Linked DNA regions of Homo sapiens: region 2 is linked to region 1. The links are contacts of gene promoters, found by promoter capture Hi-C in blood cells and fetal thymus (Javierre and others, 2016). All regions are on one chromosome and are shown on one strand. Each heading gives the region's core, a stretch centred on a gene start or on the middle of the fragment in contact. The rest is flanking DNA. Distances are from core to core; before and after follow the strand shown. Region 1 has its middle 54 kb from the start of INO80. Region 2 holds the start of DLL4 (delta like canonical Notch ligand 4).

What was found. The method cuts DNA at HindIII sites, captures the fragments that hold promoters and counts their contacts. A CHiCAGO score of 5 or more calls a contact.
Region 2: a contact is called between the fragment with the promoter of DLL4 here and a fragment that was not itself captured in region 1, in 11 of 17 cell types (erythroblasts, M1 macrophages, endothelial precursors and 8 more). The highest score is 8.3, in erythroblasts.

The regions. Positions count from the first base shown.
Region 1 is chr15:41,168,781-41,172,700 of GRCh38, reverse strand. No RefSeq gene overlaps it. Among named protein-coding and RNA genes, the nearest start is that of INO80, 54 kb to the right of the region's middle. The HindIII fragment of the contact is 1,061 bases long and covers 1,861-2,921 here.
Region 2 is chr15:40,927,484-40,931,013 of GRCh38, reverse strand. It overlaps DLL4 (delta like canonical Notch ligand 4), which reads right to left and starts at 1,674. Exons shown (of 11, transcript NM_019074.4): 1 at 1,280-1,674; 2 at 898-1,167; 3 at 332-389. The coding sequence starts at 1,345. RefSeq lists silencers at 1,780-1,869, 2,463-2,532. The HindIII fragment of the contact is 7,449 bases long and covers 367-3,530 here.

The DNA.
Region 1 (3,920 bases), core at 1,142-3,641:
TCCAGCCTGGGCGACAGAGCGAGACTCCGTCTCAAAAATAAATAAATAAATTAATTAATTAAATTAAAAAATAAAAATTAAAAAATTAATTTTTTTTTCTTTCGCCCAGGCCGGAGTGCAGTGGCCCAATCTGGTCTTACTACAACCTCTGCCTCCCAGGTTCAAGCGATTCTCCTGCCTCAATCTCCCAAGTAACTGGGATTACAGGCATCCACCACCACGCCTGGCTAATTTTTGTATTTTTATTAAGAGACGGTGTTTCACTGTGTTGGCCAGGCTTGAACTTCTGACCTCAGGTGATCTGCCCGCCTTGACCTCCCATAGTGCTGGGATTACAGGCGTGAGACACTGCACCTGGACAAAAAAGAAATTTTTGTTCCTCTTTTTCCCAAATGAACCAGAGTGTAAACTAGTAGATTTGGAAGAGTTGATCGAAGGCATTTAATTGCAATGCAAGCCAGAGAAACCAGAGGGCCAGTAACTTCAGCCTCTTGCTGTTGATCTCTCCATATTGCAATAGTAGCCTGTCTAATTAGGATGAGACACTTCCACATTCTGGAATTCTCCAATTCCCCAAGTACATTATTGTTTATAACTTGAAAGGCACCTGATGGCTAAACCCTGAGTATTTTAAATAAGAACTTTGTAATGGAAACAAATTCTAATGAAAACATTCCTTAGGAAGAGCCAAAATGGCAAGTTCCAGGAATGAGGGAATTAAGGGAAAGAAATTTTTTATTGTGTAACTTGTTGGGATGCCATTGAAATAGCAAAATCTTTATGTGGAGAAAAGGAAATTCCTCCTCAGCACTTCCTTCTGAGAAGGCCCACTTAAATGAAAAAATATATAAATGAAAATATTACATGTACGTCTAGTAGGTGTTCATACTTGCCTTTAAAATAGAGAACACTGGGCCGGGCACGGTGGCTCACGCCTATAATCTCAGCACTTTGGGAGGCTGAGGCGGGCGGATCACGAGGTCAGGAGATTGAGACCATCCTGGCTAACATGGTGAAACCCCGTCTCTACTAAAAATACAAAAAATTAGCCAGGCGTGGTGGCGGGCGCCTGTGGTCCCAGCTAATCGGGAGGCTGAGGCGGGAGAATGGCGTGAACCCGGGAGGCGGAGCTTGCAGTGAGCCGAGATCGCGCCACTGCACTCCAGCCTGGGCGACTGAGCAAGACTCCGTCTCAAAAACAACAACAAAAATAGAGAACACTGAGCCGTGGCCGTAAAGCTGCCTTATACAGTGTCCCACATGGTAAGCTTCATTTGTTTTTTTGTTTGTGTGTTTGTTTGTTTTTTGAGATGGAGTCTTGCTCTGTCACCCACGCTGGAGTGCAGTGGTGCGATCTGGGCTCTCTGCAACCTCTGCCTCCCAGGTTCAGGTGATTCTCCTGCCTCAGCCTCCTGAGTAGCTGGGATTACAGGCGCTCACCACCATGCCCAGCTAATTTTTATATTTTTAGTAGAGACGGGGTTTCACCATATTGGCCAGACTGGTCTCAAACTCCTGACCTCAAATGATCCACCCACCTTACCTTCCCAAAGTGCCGGGATTACAGGTGTGAGCTACCGCACCCGCAGGCTTCATTTGTTTTGTGCATTCGTTAGCAAACATTTTGGAGGGCCGTTTTGAAGCCAGGCACTGGACTAGATTGGGGAATCAGAGAAAAAAACACACAATCCCTACTCTCAAAGGACTTCGAGTCTAGTGGGCGATATGTACACAAAATTATAACCGAAATAATAGTTATGTTCAAGGTGTACTGGTGCATTGTACGCATGTTGGGAAAGGCAGAGTAGCCCTGGAAAGGAGATAGCACTTGTCCTGGAACTGAGATCCGTGTCAAAAGCTTTCTTCAGAGGAAAGGGTGCACTTTGAGTAAGAGAACTATGAGGATTTCACCATTGAAAGAGGGGAAAAAATACGGTATGATAGTGAGAGATAAGGCTAGGAAATAGACAAGGTCCATGTATCTGTTACAGTTTTTTGGTCATAAGCAAAACAACTGACTCGGTGTGTTAGTCCCTTCTCACACTGTTCTCACACTGCTATAAAGACATACCTGGGCTGGGTGCGGTGGATCACGCCTGTAATCTCAACACTTTGGGAGGGCAAGGTGGGCGGATCACCTGAGGTAAGGAGTTTGAGACCAGCCTGGCCAACATGGTGAAACCCTGTCTTTACTAAAAATACAAAAATTAGCCAGGCATGGTGGCACGCACCTGTAGTCACAGTTACTCAGGAGGCTGAGGCAGAAGAACTGCTTGAATCCAGGAGGCGGAGGTCGCAGTGAACTGAGATCACACCATGGCACTCCAGCCTGGGTGAAGGAGCAAGACTCCATCTCCAAAAAAAAAAAAAAAAAAAGATATACCTGAGACTAAGTAATTGGTTGCCTGAAGCCAATTAAATCTCTTTTCTCTATAAGTTATCATTATCAAATCATAATGCTTCAAACTAAATGTATTCTCTCTGTAAATGGCACCAACTTCCAAACAGATGCCCAAGTCAGAAACCCAGGAGCCAGCTAAGACTGTACGGGATTGTACAGGCTGTATAGACGTCTGTATCTTGGGAGGCCTCAGGAAACTTACAATCCTGGTGGAAAGCAAAGGGGACGCAAGCATGTCTTACATTGCTGGAGCAGGAGGAAGAGAGCAAAAGGGGAAGTGCTACACACTTTCAAAAAAACAGATCTTGGGAGAACTCTATCACAAGACAGCACTAGGCGGATGGTGCTAAACCATTAGAAACCACCCCATGATCCAGTCACCTCCCACCAGGCCCCACCTCCAACCCCTGAGTGGGGACACAGGGCCAAACTATATCACTTGGGTAATATAAACAAGAAGGGAATTTACTGGAAAGATGAGTGGCTCACAGAACTGACTAGAAGGCTAAAAAACTAAGCTTGGAAATAGGATAGAGGGCTATGGCAGAACTCTAGTTAGCAGGAACAACTCAACTGGCAGAGTGAGTGCCAGTTATGAACAAGGAAGTGAGATGATCGGAAATGTAGATTATATATATATATATATATAATTATTATTTTTTCTGAAACAGACTTTCGCTATTTTCGCCCAGACTGGAGTGCAGTGATGTGATCTCAGCTCACTGCAACCAGAAATGTAGATGATAGATCGTCCTGGTTTAAGCTGTAGGATGGATTGAAAAGGAGCAAGAATAATATGAGGAAGACTTGTATGAAAACTCTTGCATTGATTAAGGTGGAAGATGTGAATGCTTGAATTTGGGAGGGATACAGTGGGATACAGTTGGTAGGATGGAGAGGAATACACAAATACAGGATTTTAGGAAGCATAATGAACCAAATGACCAATTGAATATGGATGGTAAAGTGTGGAAAGGAGTCTTGGCTGGCTCCCAGGTTTCTGACTTGGGCATCTGTTTGGAAGTTGGTGCCATTTACAGAGAGAATATATTGAGAGGATAGTTTGCAGAACTGTGATTTGATAGTTGAATTTTACATGTTTCTCATTTAGAATACATTTGGAATTCCTACATGGATGTGTCTACTAGACAGTCAGATATATGTGAATATAGAGAAGGAGAAAGATCTGAGCTAGAGAGATTGGGAGATGTAAATGGCCCTTGAAGTGATGAGCATATACAGTATTTTCCAGGTTTGAGTATAGAGAGTAAGAGAAAAGGAATGAGAAAGATCACACTCCTAAAATAGGGCAAGGCTGGGCGCTGTGGCTGATGCCTGTAATCCCAGCACTTTGGGAGGCTGAGGTGGGTGGATCACCTGACGTCTGGAGTTTGAGACCAGCCTGACCAACACTAAGAAACCCTGTCTTTATACTAAAAATACAAAATTAGCTGGGTGTGGTGGTGCATGCCTGTAATCCCAGCTACTCAGGAGGCTGAGGCAGGAGAATCACTTGAAC
Region 2 (3,530 bases), core at 425-2,924, 240 kb after region 1:
TCCCAAAGCCATTATTCCCTTTCCAAAGGAGCGGAATTCGCGAAAGGTGTAAAATACAGGAAGGGGCCCGTCAGCGGCGCTGGCAGCTTCAGCCTTTCTCACCGCCGTACTCCCCGCGTTCCCACGCCAAAAATAACCCGCAGGAAACGCAATTGTGCTCTGAGTCCAGGCAGCGAGCGGAATCCGAGCGTCCAGCGCGGGGCGCAGCTCCAGGCCAAGCTAAGCGTCCTGCCTCCCACCCCCAAGCCCGCACTTCCCCCGCCTAGAACAGATTAACTCTTTCGGCGCTGCGCCGTGTCGCCCCCCTGTGGTGGCGGAGCGAGCTACTCACCTGGCCGCAGGTCGTCTCCTGGCGCGTGCCAAGCTTCGATGATGAGCGAGAAGGTACCCTGGGAAAGGGGGTGGGGGGACGGAGAGATGGCGAGATGAGCAAGCGGGGAGAGGTGGGGGTGCCTTGCGGCAGCCTGTTTAATTAATCTAATTGCAGGATTCAGTTACTGCGCCCGGGTCAACATAACGGGGCTGTGCACAGTGTAGCGCTTGAGCAGGGAAGGCGAGAGGAGAACCCCCGGTAGAGGGAGGGTTGAGAGACGGGAGAGTGTAAGGGAGAGCCACTGGAGGAGGGGGTGGTAGGGTACCGCCCCAGAGTGGTAGGTAATGAAAATCGTGTCCCAAGAGCTGGGGACGGGAGGACATAAACTGGGAAGACGGAGACTGGTGAGAGCCTTTTCTGGGATCAGTCTCAGGAGAGAGTCGGGAAGAGCCAGGAAAGAATGCATCCTGGGCTTTTTGGGGGTGGGGGTGTGTGTACAAGGAAATCTGGGGAGGGGGCTTTGGTCCCAGGGCGCCTCCTCTCTCGGCTTCTGCGACCTCCCAGTGCGCCCAGGCTGTGCTCACCGGCCAGGTGAAATTGAAGGGCAGTTGGAGAGGGTTGCGCCCCCCGCCGCTACTGTCGTCCCGGACAGCGAAGGAGTTGGTGCCCAATACCGGCGTGGAGACGGTCCCGAAGGTGCAGGGTCCGGGCGAGACGACCGCCTGGAAGTGCTTAAGGCAGACGCGGAAGAAAGTCCGGCAGCCGGGCTCGCAAGGCCGCCCACTGGCCAGTACGCCGCGCTCGTTGATGAACTCCTGCAGCTGCAGCTGGAAGACGCCGGAGCCGGCCGCGCGCTATTGCACAGGGACCGAGGGAAGGAGGGAGGGGACCGGTCAGCTCAGCTGGTGCCCGGGGCTGAGGCCCAGAGCGCGGCAGAGGGGACGGAGAGGGCGCGGGACGTGTTACCTGCTGCCAAAGTGCCACCAGCAGCAGTAGCGCCCAGCCAGAGGCGCTCCGGGACGCTGCCGCCATCCCCTCGGGCGTCGCTCTCTCCACCCGCGGGCCCTCAATCTGGCTCTGTTCGCGACGCCGCTTTCCCGCGCGTCCGCCAGCCGGCGGGGTCCCTGAAAAGAGGCGCTCCTCTCGGGACGCTGCTCCCCTTTGGCCTTCTCGCTGGCTCCGCTGCAGCTGCCGCTGTAGGTAATCCAGGTGACTACGGCTGGGCGGCGACCGCGCCGAGGACGCGTCTTCTGTCTAATCCTGGGGCTGCAAGCGGGCTAGTGCCGGTGTACGCTGCACCAAGGCGGCTGGGGCTGCGGCTCTTGGCCTCGTGTTCCCGGCCTGCGCGCAGCGCCGCTACTGAAACCTGCGCGCTGGGGGCCTTCCTTATATATATTGGCTCCTCTCCTCGCCGCCTGTCACTCAGACTCATGGTCATTCTCCCCTCCCCTCCCGGCCTCTAGCTGCTACAGTCCCAGCGCCGCCCGGAGGGGGCCTCCGCCCCCGCCGCTCCCCCCTCCCCGTCAGCCAGTCGGGCGCAGGTCCCCGCCCCTCCGTGCCGCTCCCAACCTCTAGGTCCCCCAGCTCTGCGCGTGCCGAGGTGACCAGTCCTCCGTGATGGCGGGGTTAAGGGCTGAGACCCTGGCCGCCGGAGGATAGAGGGGTTGCCCGGTAATGGGGCAGGAGGTGAGTGGGTGGTTCGGGGATGGTCTTGGGGGCGGAGACACTAGGCAGTCCCTGTAGGCTGTGCATCCGCAGCAGGCGCTAGTTACCTAGTGTTCCAAAGCAGGTAAAAAGAACTTAAGCCCGGAATGCAAAAACCAGCGCTAGGGAAATCCGATCTCCTTTTCCTTCCTGGAGCTTCTGGAGCCCTTGTCTCAACGGCCCCCAACCTATGAGTGCCCACCCACCACGCGTCCCCAGCGCAGCAGGGAAGCCAGCAGAAGCGTTAACCTCTCTGTGGCCACTCTGAGCAAGGCTAGGGGCTAAGGGTCTAAGGCTCGGGGCCCTCTCTGTGCACCTGTTGGGCGTCTCCCTCTCTAGCTAAGGGGGGGCGTGCCCAGCGCGTGCCTTCTCCCTTCTGCCCCCTGCCAGGGCTTGGCGCGTGCCAGAGACCCAGACGCGCGGTCCCTGAGGTGGGGGAGGGCGGGGCGTGGTCCCGGAGGTAGGAGGGGGGCGCGTCCTCAGCTGTATGGTAATGAGGTTCTGGCCCCGCCTCCAGCGCGTCCCCTCACCTGAGTCCAGCTTCAGTTCCTGCGCCCACTGCCTCCCCCCACCCCAGCAGCCCCAAGCCCCCGGCCGCGCCCTGTCGCTCAGCTGGGGCAAGGAGGAACTCTCCTGACGCCAGAGTTGGCTCAGGCCACTGGAGAATCAAGGTGAGGGACTGAGGCCGGGTCGGCCCGGGTCCTCGCCTCATAAGGCGGGATGTGGGGTGGAACTGGAGGCTTGCGGAGCTGTTTGAGTTTCAGGCGGCTTCCCAAGTCTCGCCCGAGAGGGTCCCCTGGGTGGCCCCACTCCTCCAAGCGGCAGCAGCGCAGCTGCTTTCTCGGAACCCGGCGTGATCCCCGGAGACCGCAGACCGGGGAGGGCCGGCTTCTCCCAGTCTCAGGGGTGCCGGGGAGCTCTCTCTTTGCGACGCCGAGGGCAGCGGGGGCCCTGTGGCTTCAGCTGTCAGCCCGCCCGCGAGGTGATGGCTGTAGTCGGGCGGTAAGATCAGCGCGGGGGGGGAGCCGGGACGCGGCGCGAACCCGGGGGAGGCGGTAAGGGTGGGGGAGCGGCGAGAAGCCCAACAGCTGCCAATGCCGAGCATGGTCTGATTTTTTTTTTTGAGTTGGGTGGTGGTGGTGGAGGACTGGGGGACGGGTGTGGTGGGGGGGGGAAGGATGAGAAACAAGAGGTTGGGAGCGTGGGTTGGGGGAGGGGCGAGGTGAGGAGACGGGCTCCGGGGTCCCCCACGCACGGCCACCCCTCCCAGCCACCATCTGGCGCGAGCGGGTTGGCGTGGGGAACCGAGGTGGGGCGGGGCGGCAGATGGGCCCAGGCTGCGCTCGGGAGTTAATGTAGGTTATGGGCAGGCGGAGTCCCAGGCCCGAGGGAGGGGGAGTCCGGGGCGTGCCTCCCGGCGATCCTGGCAAGTGGGCTCCCAGATCTTCTCTCCGCCTATACCCTATGGATCCCTGGACTTGCCTCTCTAAGATGCCAGCGGGTGCCCCTTGCT